3 separate regions of the Homo sapiens genome follow, and all the other regions are linked to region 1. Evidence: promoter capture Hi-C in 16 types of primary human blood cells and fetal thymus (Javierre and others, 2016). All regions are on one chromosome and are shown on one strand. The core of a region is centred on a gene start or on the middle of the fragment in contact, and the rest is flanking DNA. Distances in the headings are between cores, read along the strand shown. Region 1 holds the start of SFXN4 (sideroflexin 4). Region 2 overlaps MCMBP (minichromosome maintenance complex binding protein). Region 3 overlaps MCMBP (minichromosome maintenance complex binding protein).

The links. Contacts are between HindIII fragments. The CHiCAGO score rates a contact against its expected background, and 5 or more counts as called.
Region 2: a contact is called between a fragment that was not itself captured here and the fragment with the promoter of SFXN4 in region 1, in 1 of 17 cell types (total CD8 T cells). The highest score is 6.5, in total CD8 T cells.
Region 3: a contact is called between a fragment that was not itself captured here and the fragment with the promoter of SFXN4 in region 1, in 6 of 17 cell types (total CD4 T cells, fetal thymus, total B cells and 3 more). The highest score is 10.1, in total CD4 T cells.

The regions. Positions count from the first base shown.
Region 1 is chr10:119,164,362-119,168,452 of GRCh38, forward strand. It overlaps SFXN4 (sideroflexin 4), which reads right to left and starts at 1,353. Exons shown (of 14, transcript NM_213649.2): 1 at 1,176-1,353. The coding sequence starts at 1,286. It overlaps PRDX3 (peroxiredoxin 3), which reads right to left. Exons shown (of 7, transcript NM_006793.5): 7 at 3,359-4,091. RefSeq lists silencers at 804-990, 1,032-1,501. The HindIII fragment of the contact is 6,667 bases long and covers 1-3,757 here.
Region 2 is chr10:119,829,689-119,833,942 of GRCh38, forward strand. MCMBP (minichromosome maintenance complex binding protein) reads right to left here. Exons shown (of 16, transcript NM_001256378.2): 15 at 2,324-2,412; 16 at 1-1,912. The coding sequence ends at 1,786. Among named protein-coding and RNA genes, the nearest start is that of MCMBP, 41 kb to the right of the region's middle. The HindIII fragment of the contact is 166 bases long and covers 2,119-2,284 here.
Region 3 is chr10:119,865,091-119,869,587 of GRCh38, forward strand. The region is part of intron 1 of MCMBP (minichromosome maintenance complex binding protein); the gene reads right to left. Among named protein-coding and RNA genes, the nearest start is that of MCMBP, 5.5 kb to the right of the region's middle. The HindIII fragment of the contact is 2,443 bases long and covers 545-2,987 here.

The DNA.
Region 1 (4,091 bases), core at 103-2,602:
CAGGTGAGGAAGCTGAGGCTTAGAGGGACTCCTGAATGTACTCAAGGCAACACAGCCAGGAAATGATTCAGAAGTCTGTGCCCTTAACCTCTCAGTATCAAATTGCCCTTGAGGGTTAAAATCCCAGACTTTGGGGGTTCAAATGGTCTTACGTTCATATCTCACATACGACCTCGAAGCAATGGCCTAGAATATCTCAAGAGTCTGTGGCCTCACTCTCTGCTTGCTATAAGGCTTCACTCCAGTGACAAAGGATGGACGCCCCATTAAGGGCTCAATGGTGCAGCTGGGGTCACACTGGGGAAAAAGAGGTTTGCTCCAGCAAACTCTAAACTTTGTAGTGGTTCTGGCTTTAAGCCTTGGCTCTGCTGGAGCAACCTGAGCTCACCGCCCCTTCTCAATTTCCCCACCTAAAAAAAAAACAGGGCTGGACCCCACTTTAGGAGAGGCCTCAAAGAGAACCCCCTAAAGCCCTGCTCTCCAATTCGCCACATGCGGCTGAACCCAGATGTGCTGTGAAGGTAACAGACGCCGGATTTGGAACACTCTGTACCAAAAAAGCGAGTAAAATATCTCAGCAATGTTTTTTACTGATTACATGTTGAAATGTTAATATTTTGCACCTGCTAGGCTAAATGTACTGTATTGTTAAAAATTTCAGCTGTTTTTATCTTGTTTAATGTGGCTACTAGAAAATGTTTAATTACCTGTAAGGCTCACATCATATTTCTATTGGACGGTGCTGCCCTAGACGCTGCAGGGAGATAAGTCCTGCTTATGTCCTGCCCAAGGGTGGCTTCCCAAAGCCTCGGGGGTCTCACCGAAAGTGGCTGAGCTTACCAAGGTGCGAGAGCCTGTTTCTCCCCAATCTGCTGCTCAGCCACAGCTCAGGCAGTAGGGAGCAGCCACCTGCGCGGACTGGGCCCCTCCGAGAGGGCAATCTGGAGGGTGACGTTGTGGTCGTGGGCATCTGGCAGCTTCGATTTCCCCTGCGTCCCCTGCCGCGCCCTAAGGGGTGAAGGCCGGTGGTGCGCGTTCCCGGCACAACTCCGAGAGGAGGAAACGGAGACAGGGGGCGCCCACGTGGCCTGGCCAAGGTCACCCGGGTCAGCCCGACTCCACGCGGCCCGGCCCGCCCCCTCCCTGCCCCTAGTCGCGCCGGGCCCGGGCCGTACTTGGCGCTCGGTGATCCAGAAGCGCACGTTGGGCTCAATGAAGGCGGGGACGGCGTCTCTGCGTCCTAGGAGCCGCCCAGGTTGCGTTTCCTCCTCCTGTTCCAGGGACATTTTGCGCTGGTTAGAGTGGCCGCCGCCGCCAGGCCGCGCGTGGAGGAGGAGCCGGGCGGCGAGCCCCGCCCCGGGCCGCGCGCACCCGCAGTTCCCGCCCCAGGCCCGCGCGCCCGACGTCCCGTGTCACAGCGCCTCGGGGCCCTTGCGCGCCCACTGTTCCGGCGAGCGCAGCTCTCCCACGGGCCACGTCCTCCCAACCCTGCTTGCCCTGCTCCGCACCTTTGGGGAGCCGGGCCGTCTCCAGGCCCCAAGGGGTCACTATCGGAACCCGTCATCACAGTACCTAATGCGAAGACCCGGAAAGGTTGTGAGTGAGGCCGTCCGCAACCTCACCCTGCGCTTCTGCCGCGCCCTACCCCTGGTCATTACCCTCGAAAATCCCTCCGATGGCCCACGAATTCCAGTGTGCATGGTGTTGCGCAGTCAGGCCGGCTGCATCATGGTCTCAGCCCAGGGAAAATGTCAAATGCGGTGCCCCTTATTCATGTTACTGAGAATTTCAAGAGAGTAACACCAGAGCATCAAACCAAGTATAGGGCCCTGGGCACAGTGCACTATCCCTCAGCCCAACAGGTTGTTTTTTTTTTTCTTCCAGTGTTGGGGCAAATCCAGTTCCTTTTGTTGACTACCAAATAGGTACCATTTGTAAAGAAAAACCTGCCTTCCCTTCCTCCTCCCACCTGCCCTTCCCCAGCACAGGGCCAGGCGGGGGCTGTGTGCACTTAAATTCACGGAAGCCACAAGTGTGCCTAGGTCGTTCAGGGGGCCTCCGGAGTCCAGGACTGGGGGACCCAGCACATCATCTAGTTGTGTGACCCTCGCCAAGTCAGTATCTCGAAGTCTATTTTCCCATCCGCAAAATGAGGATAACAATTGTACCTATCTCAGGGTTTTGTTTCTGATCAAAGGAGATAAAACATCCCTAACACAGCACTGAGCCCTCAGAAGTGCTCAGTATTGGCCATTAACCTCCAGCGGGCCAATTCCTTCCCTTGCCCTGCGCCTCCAGGAACAGGAAATTGGCTCATGGCGTCCTTCAGGCCTGTATGACTCTGCTTCTGTATTTGCTCAGTTTGCCTAGCTCACTTTTCTTAACCTCCAGGGGTTTATCTCCTCTTCCAGGAAGCCTTCCCTGACCCTCCGAGTTGAGTAAGGTGCCCCCTCCACTTCTACCCTTATGCCGCAGAAATCCATCTAAGCACCAGTGCAGTATGTAGCGTGCTGTTCTATTCTGTTGTCTCTACCCTCCAGGATGTCACAAAGCCAGCCCGCTGGCCTGCTTCCCCACTTTGGACTGCTATGTCGTCTTAACAAAGGAGCCAGAGTGATTCTCTTAGAACAAGTTGATGTCACTCTTCTTTTCAAATCCTTCCTGACATTCCCCACCCCAGAACAGAACCTAAAGTCCTTGGCCTGGCCAAAAGGCACTCTGGGACCCCCACCACAGCCATAGTCACCGGCCTCCTAGTAAATCTGCATCCGCTCTGAGCCCACTCTTGCCTCACGGCCTTTGTGTTTTCCCTGCCCTCTGCCTAGAAGTCTCTTATCCCCGTAATACTCTCACTTTCTACGCGTTTTCTCTCCCTCGATGCTCATCAAAACCCTGAGATAAGTACAATTATTGTCCTCATTTTACAATGAGAAAATTGATCCAGAGAGGCTCTCCCTTAAGGCCTTCCTTGACAACCCCATCTAGAACACCTACAACTCCGCTTCAGCAGTTTCACTCCACATTATTTTCCTTCCAAACACTCTACTTTTACTACATGTATGAGGTGTTTCCCCTCTAGAATGTAAGAGCTTAAAAGCAGGGGTTTGTCCGTTGTTCGCTCTTGTGCCTGGAAAACAGCACCTGGTGCGGGGTAGGCACTCAAGGATTTACTGAAACAACGAGAAAATGTTTCCCTATCTGTCTTGCCCCTAAACCGAGTTCCTTGAGTGCGGAACCAGCATCTTATTCTCTTTGTGGCCCCTGAGGTAAATGCTCAATAAATGTTTGTTGATAATCTGAGAAGGAAAGGAGAGCCCAAAATAAGCTGATCCAACAGTTACTGGTGGTAAAATGCAAATGTTTTAAAATATGTTTATTTTGTATGTTTTACAATGAATACTTCAGCAAAGAAAATAATTATAATTTCAAAATGCAATCCCTGGATTTGATAAATATCCTTTATAATCGATTACACTAATCAATATCTAGAAATATACATAGACAAAGTTAGCTAATGAATAAAATAAGTAAAATGACTACATAAACTCAATTTCAGGGATGAGGGATCATGCATGATCAGTTAAGTCACTCTGCCACTTTTTAAAATAATACGATTCACATTTGCTTCAATCACATAAACATTCATTGCAGGAGTTACACGGCTAATCATTGAAAATTATGATCTTTGTTAGCTTAAAAGAAAATTCAGTTTAATACAAAGACATTCAAGATGAAAATTTCAGGACCGTTGATCAGAAGCTTTCAATGTGTGTTGCTCTACTTTATTATAGGCAAGATTCAAGTAAGGCTAAGAAAGAAGAGTGTTTCCATTGAGACATGATCTAAGAATAGCCTTCTATAGAGGCAAATTATGTTCTGTAGAAACTAGCTAGCCAGCCACCAAGATGTTACCAATAAAGGATTCCTTGTACTAGCAACTAACCATGTTTAAAAGGTCTTAGCCAGAATTACAAAAACAAAACATTTAGAGTAATACTTATGAATACAAGCATAATTGGTTCCTTGCCTTCTACAAATAACCATCTTGAAAATGATAAAAGCAGGTTTCAACTGTGGTTCTTCTCTCAGTT
Region 2 (4,254 bases), core at 952-3,451, 670 kb after region 1:
CAGTTCAGCTCTCTCATGTCTTCCACCAAGAGGACATGGTCTTTTTCCACACAGATCACATGGGATGGTGAATCTTCTTACTCATGAAAAACAGCCCAAGGTACTGCTAATTTGGGACGTTTTATTTATTGGAAAGGTTCTTTCAAGGGAACTTTTCTGCAAGACCAAGCAATGTATGTATTTTTCTTTGGTAAATTACAATTTACATTGGCACAAAAAACACATGGTGACTAATGTACTTTGCTCTAGGACAATTAAAGAAAATGTATTTTATCCTCACAAATCCAGTGAAGCCTTCATTTTATTTCTAAAAGTTTAAGGAAGGTCTAGTCTACCAGTTATAAAAATGAAAACCAGTTCAACTCTAATATAAACATTATTTACATTTGTTTATAAAAATAGATTTGAGTTTAGGAAAAGTTGAACAACTAGTTATTTTTACTTCAGTTATTAGGTACAATGAATTCCTTGATTTTTCAAGGCTGACCCTGTTTCCTTGGTTAACAATTTCAATTTAGGCCTTATAGGAAAAAACGTAAGGGATCCTTTATCTGCCTCCAACTAGGTAAGTTATTTGATACCACTGACAGCTTAAAAAGTAATGTCCTAACCTTTCTGAAGATTCTGGTTGCCATAACCATGCTACTACAGTCTGTTGTTAGTTTGCTCTATTAAAACTAATTGGTCTGGAGAAAACCTACCTGCAGTTGTACGAGGCTGTTACTGGAGTAGCAGATGTTAGCTGATCTAACATACTTGGAACCAACTGATGATCCCATAAAAAATGCCAAAAATCCAATAGAATCAAAGCAACTCAATGACATTTAAGAAAATAAAAACTTTCTAAAGGGGGTATTGCTTTTTAAGTTTCCTATTTTGTTTTCATATTTGGGCACAGCTTTGTAGCACAGCATTCCCTTATGCATGGTTCTCAAATGCACTGGGATAGGAGAAAATAAAGACAATGTAGTGTCTTGGTTTCTTTTGCCCCCAAAAGCCACATTCATTCCGTTTAAAGGACTCCTCTTATTCAGAGATAGATTGTCCTTTCCTTTTATGAAAAAAATGGTGATAATACAGTGATTTATTCGGATTACTTGGCAAGGTAAATTGGCAACCTTATAGTACCCCAGATTTTTGGAAATATTACTACCGGTCCATAAAATACAAAAGTCTGGGAACCACTGCCATGTACAAGTTTAGTTTTGCAGGCTGTTAACAAATGTTAAGTGGGAAAAAGTTTCTGTGGCCAAACATCTGGGAAATGACAGTACAGAATTTCATGTAGTCATGTGAATCAATGGCAAGTACGCCTCCGTTCCCCAAAGATGGACTACTGAATGCACCCCAACCCACTGTGAACTGGAAAAACAGAGAACTAGAAAACATAAGAAATCCGAAGCACGATTCCTCTGACTTTGAAACTGCAACAACCTTCTTCATTTCAGCATTTCAACAGTCTGGCCTATGACTCAGCTGAAGCTAAGGAAATGGTACAATCAGCAACATTATCAATATTAAACTTTTAATATCAAATACTTTTTTTACATCATTACTAATTTATATAATTATTATAAAACAAACTTCAAAAGCTCCATGAAATCAGTAAGGTAAAAGTCCTTACTGAATATCATATAAACATCAGGTGTTACCAGGCTTGATTTCAGGAAATGTCACTGGTTTGTGATAGAAATTACCTATAAAACAATGTGGTATAAATGAATATCTGAATTTTACAATTATGTGGCTACAGTTTGCCCATTACTCTTCATAGGTATTACATCTTTAAAGTTCATTTCCATTCACACATTTTTGCTGCTGAAGCCTCGTTCTTCTTAAAGACTCTAGCTGCTTTGCTCTCAGCCATCGTTCTCTTGACAGCGTTGTCTGACCAGCACTGAGAGACAGACACCTGGTTTGAAACACAGAAACAAATTTAAGTCTAGAGCTGGGATAGTAAGTTTTAAATTTTTTTTAAGACCTAGGAATACTTTGTGAAAACACAGAGCACGTTAGGAGACAAGACCGTATGGTAGTTACACACAAGTCAACAGCCAAGTTAGGCTTCTAAAAAGAAATCGTTGAAGAGTCAGAATTGGAAAGTGGCTCACTCTTTGAAGCTTAGAGAACAAGCAGCATGCCTGTTCCACTGAAGAGATCACCAGCCAAACTCGATTCCCCCTCAATGAGCCCTTTCATACAGCGTTTTTAAAAGGAAAAGTTCATTTCCGTTTTTAGAATTCTGCCTCAGTTACTGCTGAATAACTCAGAAGACATATACACAAGCTTACCGAAACAGCAATAATGGACGTGCGCCACTTACCGAGCCACCACGAGCAGCTGGTGAAGATCATCAGCAGTGATGCTCTGAGGGTCGTTCTTCCGCATTTCCACAAAGTCATCTTCAACTGCCTTTATCAAAAGAGTAAATGTAAATGATGTGCATTTTTGTAAGGAAAAGAAAATTAACATGGTTCCTTGACTGATGTAGTAAGGTGCATGTCAGCCTCTTAGACAAAGGAGGCAATATGGGTGAAAGTACCAAAGCATATACATACATAATGCTGCTGATGAAAATAAAATAATGAAACTCAGATTCATTTAAGGTCAAGCAAACATATAAATCAGCAACTGGCATAGGAAACAATGCTTTTCCACAAAGGAAGAGTGATGTTAGTGAAAATGGCAGAGAAGGGACCGCAGAAAACTGTCTCTACTGTTAACACTGATCAAAATCAGCTTTTTAAAAACTAGAAATAAAACCATACTTGCAGCAATCCAGAGAGCATTTATGCAAGAAAACCAGGTGATTATTGGTAAGAATGTTGAGCCTGGCAGCATTTTAACATGTCCTACTCCTAAATTCCAACCCCTTCCCCTCCAGGCGATAATTAGTAGCTTCAAAAATCAACAGCCTGGCAGCCACCGGAGAGAGAACAGGGCTAGGGCTCCTTCCAAGTGCCATTCCCGGAGAACTGTCATCTGACCACCTGTCTGGTGGCTCCCTGGAAGGACCCATTTGCAAGGTTGTCTTTATTTAACCTGACTGGAAGCCTGTCTACTATGAACCACCTCTTTCCCCAGGGCATTTATCAAAAACAATCGGAAGAAATTACCAATCACCTTAGCTACCTGAGACACTGGGTAACAGCTGCGGCAGACAGACTAACCCAAACCCTTCAATGGAAAAGCTAGCTGGGAAATGACATGTCTGTAGAGGGCTCTGAAAACCTTAAGTATGTAACTCCTAGGAACTCAGAAGGCTGCAGACATGCTCAGAGACCATAGCTCCCACCTCTGCATGACCTGGAGGCTCTGTGCGAGCAGGAAATGAAGGCTAAGGCTTGTAAATTGCATGGCTAAGTGTTGAACTGAGGGCTTGCCCCAACTTTTATTTTTATTTATGATTATTATTCACCCGTAGACTGGGAGACTACTACCCAGCATTTAAGGAAATTTCTTTCCAATCATTAACCACAAAACTAACAGAGCAGAGACTTCAGTGCCCACATGTGACAAAGATACAGACTTTATAGAATTAGTCAAAAAAGTTACTAAACAACCTACCAACAGTAACAAACAGCAACAACAATAAACCCTAGGGAGGTTTAATTTCCAGAGTAACTTCCAAAGCAGAGTTGCCATATTATATAATTTAAAATGTCTGGTTGTGGCTAGATGTGGTGGCTTACACCTGTAATCCCAACACATTGGGAGGCCAAGGTGGGAGGACTACTTGAAGCCAGGAGTTGACCAGCCTAGGCAATAAAGCAAGACCTCATCACTACAAAAAAAAAAAGAAAGAAAAAAAAAGAAAAGAAAAAACAAAAAAACAAAACTTTAGTTGGGCATGGTGGTGCACACCTATGGTCCCAGCTACTGAGGCAAGAGGATCACTTGAGCCCAGCAGTTTAAGGCTGCAGTGAGCTGTGGCTGTGCTACTTACTATTCCAGCCTGGGTGATACAGTGAGACCCCACTGACCAAATAAAATGTCTGGTTTTCAACAAAAAAGTACAAAGAAACCAGAAGGTATGGCTCACACTTTGGGGATAAGGGAGTCAGTAGAAAACTGTCCCAGAGGAAACTCAAACATTAGACAAAAAGACTCTAAATTGGCTATTTTAAACATTCAAAGAAATAAAGGAAACCACATAAAAAGAACTTCAGGAAAATATGAGAATCACCAAATAGAGAGTATCAATAAAAAGAGAGAAATAATTTTTTAGAAGAAGGAAATAAAAATTCTGGAGTT
Region 3 (4,497 bases), core at 516-3,015, 700 kb after region 1:
TATTCTGTCAAGTACTGAGAGAGGAGTAGTAAAATATCTAACTACAATTGCAGATTTGCCTATTTCTTCTTTTATTTCTGCTGGTTTTTGCATCATACATTTTGAAGCTCTGTTGCTTGGTGCATATATAGTTAGGTCTTCTTGGTGAACTGACTGTTTTAACATTATATAATGTGCCTCTTGTTCTCTTCTCACACAACCTTTCTTAAAAACATTTTAGGCCAGGCGTAGTGGCTTATGCCCGTAATCCCAGCACTTAGGGAGGCCAAGGCAGGCAGATTACCTGAGATCAGTAGTTTGAGACCAGCCTGGCCAACATGGTGAAACCTCATCTCTACTAAAAATACAAAAGTTAGCTGGGCTTGCTGGTGGTACCTGTAATCCCAGCTACTTGGGAGGCTGAGGCAGGAGAATTGCTTGAACCTGGGAAGTAAAATGGTGCAGCCACTGTGGAAAAGTTTGGCAATTCCTCAAAAAGTTAAATATAAAATTATCATATGACCTTGCAATTCCATCCCTAGGTATATCTGGGAAAGAACCAAAAAGCTTACATTCACACAAAAACTTGTACATGAATGTTTATAGTAGCAGTATTTATAACAGCCAGGAAATAACCTAAGTGTCCATCAGCAAATATATGGATAAACAAAATGCAGTATAGACATACAATGGAATGTTATTTTCAGCCATAAAAAGGAATGCAGACTGGGTACAGTGGCTCACATCTGTAATCCCAGCACTTTGGGAGGCCGAGGCGGGAGGGTCACTTGAGGCCAGGAGTTTGAGTGTAGCCTGGGCAACATAGTGAGACCCCAAATCTACAAAAAATGATTTAAAAATTAGCTGGGTGTGGTAATACAGGTAATACATGCCTGTAGTCCCAGCTACTCAGGAAGCTGAGGCTGCAGGATCACTTGAGACTGGAAGTTCAAGGCTGCGGTGAACCATGATCTTGCCACACAGCATTCCAGCCTGGACGACAGAGCCAGGCTCTATCTCTTAAAAAAAAAAAAAAAAGGAATGCAGTACTGATGCATACTATGACATGGATGAACCATGAAAATATCATGGTAAATGAAAAGAAGCCAGACCTCAAAGGCCACATGTTGTATAATTCCACCTACACGAAACGTCCAGAATAGGTAAATCCATGGGCAGAAGTATAGTTGTTGCCAGAGATGGAAGACAGAAGAAATGGGAGAGACTACTAAAGGTATGGGGTTTCTTTTTGGAGTGATGAAAATGATAGGGGTGGCCGGGCGTGGTGGCTCATGCCTGTAATCCCAACACTTTGGGAGGCCGAGGCGTGTGGATCACCTGAGATCAGGAGTTCAAGAGCAGCCTGACCAACATGGTAAAACTCCGTCTCTACTAAAAATACAAAAATTAGCCAGGAATGGTGGTGCATGCTTGTGATCCCAGCTACTTGGGAGGCTGAGGCAAGAGAATCGCTTGAACCCGGTAAGCAGAGGTTGCAGTGAGCCAAGTTTGCACCACTGCACTCCAGCCTGGGCAACAGAGTGAGACTCCGTCTCAAAAAAAAGAGAAAAAGATAGTGGTGGTGATGGTTGCACAACATCATTATGAATACAGTAAAAAAAATTCAATTGTACATTTTAAAATGTTAAATTTTGTTATGTGAATTTTATTTCAAAGAAAAAAAATTTTTTTGGACCAGCCTGAGCAACATAGTGAAACACCATCTCTACGAAAATACAAAAAGTTAGCTGGGTGTGGTGGCAGGCGCCTGTAGTCCCAACTACTCGGGAGGCTGAGGCAGTAGAACTGCTTGAACCTGGGAGGTAGAGGTTGCAGTGAGCAGAGATCGTGCCACTGCACTCTAGCCTGGGTGACAGAGCGAGACTCTGTCTCAAAGAAAAAAACCTCTAAAAGCAAAAACAGTTAAAAGCGGTTACTTCAGGCAGGGCACGGTGGCTCATGCCTCTAATCCCAGCACTTTGGGAGGCCGAGGGTGGTGGATCACGAGGGCAGAGGAGGTCGAGACCATCCTGGCCAACACGGTGAAGCCCCGACTCTACTAAAAATGCAAAAATTAGCCAGGTGTGGTGGTGGTCGCCTGTAGTCCCAGCTACTCAAGAGGCTGAGGCATGAGAATCGCTTGAACCTGGGAGGGAGAGGTTGCAGTGAGCCGAAATCGCACCACTGCCCTCCAGCCTGGGCGACAGAGCGAGACTCCATCTCAAAAAAAAAAAAAAAAAAAAAAAAAAAAAGTGGTTACTTCAATGGAGGGAGCACGTACTTTCACTCAGTTCATACCATCATGTTGATTTTTTTTAAAACCATGTGTAAGTTATTATAACTTAAAAACTCCTACGTATGCCATCTGCCATGGCTGCCGGAGCTATTCTTCTTCTTTGAGAACGCCCCCAATGTTGAGGTGTGGATAACAGTCACGATTGTCCTACCTAACTCTGTGCCATGGCCACAGATGACTGATCCCTGAGTGAATGGATTCCTGACTCCATGTTGTGCCAATCAGATTTTCTATGCCTGAAAATAAAGATGCTAGCTAGCGTGGGTTGGAACCGAGAACAAGTAAATTTGGGAGACATGGAGTAGAGAAAGAGAAAGTGTGCAGAGATTAATGTATCCCAAGAGAAGAAATACTGAGTTGCTTGGATTCCTGCTAGCTTTCCAGTTCCTGATTCCACTCAGTCTCTTCGAATACCCAACCACTTCCCCTGTTCTTGGGTTTTATAGCCTTAATATAAATTAACTTTTTTCAGTGGCCTACCAAGGACAGAGTGGTAGAAGAGGTCCAAGCTGGGTACAGACAATAAGGGCACAGATTGTCTGTTTAGATTCATGGTGATAATAAAAAGCAGACCAACTAACTTTTAGTTCATTTTATTATTGCTTTAAATTCTCTAAAATGCTAGTGATAAAATAGTCTGCTCTGCCCCTCTTCACCCAACCCTGCTCTTTTTTGCATGAGCTAGTCTAGTTCTGTTAGATACAACCAAAGAAGCTTAAATATAACGAGAATAATGATCTTGGTCTAACCAATAGTTGAAGGGAAAACAGCTAAAGAGGCTGGGCGCAGCAGCTCACACCTGAGATCTCAGCACTCTGGGAGGCCAAGTGGGGGCAGATCACTTGAGGCCAGGAGTTCAAGACCAGCCTGGCCAACATGGCAAAACCCTGTCTCTATTAAAAATAGAAAAATTAGCCAGGCATGGTGGTGCACACTTTTAATCCCAGCTACTCGAGAGGCTGAGGCATGAGAATGGCTTGAACCCAGAAGGCGGAGGTTGCAGTGAGCCGAGATCACGCCACTGCACTCCACCCTGGGCAACAGAGCAAGACACTGACTCCAGAAAAAAAGAAAAGAAAAATTTTGAGATTTGTGATCTCACTAGCCATTTCAATTAACAACATTTCTGATTAATCAGTCTTTTCACTGCTTTTGTTCAACAAGTGTCCACTGAGCACTTTCAATGTACAAGGCAAATTCTAAGAAATTAGGATACAGTGGTGAATAATGCAGATACAGGGGCCCTGAATTCGCGGGGTCAAAATCCAGCAAAGGAACTTCCGAAACAAGGAATTTCAACAATGCACTTTACACACTATTTTTCAAAGACATATATAATAGGATCCTGCAGTAACATGGAGCAGGGGTACCCTACTTTGGTACCTAACTTAAGTTCCCAAAGGAAAAGTAAGACTTAGCCAGAAAAGTGGACATGGGATGGGAGGGGGAATCAGGCACAAGAAATCAGCAGATGCAAAAAGGCCTAGACACAGGTTCAAAATTAAAGAACTGAAAAAAGGTTCAGTGCGGCTGGGATGGAGTATGAGGAGGGGGTACGCAGTGATAAAGTCTCAGAGCAAGGCAAGGGTGGAGCCAACAAGGGCCTCATAAACCACTTTAAAAGTCCTGGATCAGATAGTAAGGGTAACAAGAAGTCACTGAAGGACTTGGTTCCAGTATGGCAGGTGGAAGAGAAGCAAGACTGGAGGCAAGAAACCAGTTAGAGGGCTGTTCCAGCGTCCAGGAAAGAGACTACGATGGCTTTAATTTTGACAGTAGCATTGGAGATGAGGGTCTGGGTCGGGCGCGGTGGCTCACGCCTATAATCCCAGCACTTTGAGAGGCCGAGGCAGGCAGATCACCTGTTCGAGACCAGCCTTGCTAACATGGTGAAATCCTGTCTCTACTAAAAATACAAAAATTAGCGGCTCGGTGTGGTGGCTCACGCCTACAATCCCAGCACTTTGGGAGGCCAAGGTGGGCGGATCACTAGGTCAGGAGTTCAAGACCAGCCTGGCCAACATGGTGAAACCCTGTCTTTACTAAAAATACAAAAATTAGCTGGGCATGGTGGCATGCACCTGTAATCCCAGCTACTCAGGGGGCTGAGGCAGGAGAATCACTTGAACCCAAGAGGCAGAGGCTGCAGTGAGCCAAGATTGTAACACTGCGCCCTAGCCTGAGTGACAGAGCAAGACTCAGTCTCAAAAAAAAAAAAATTA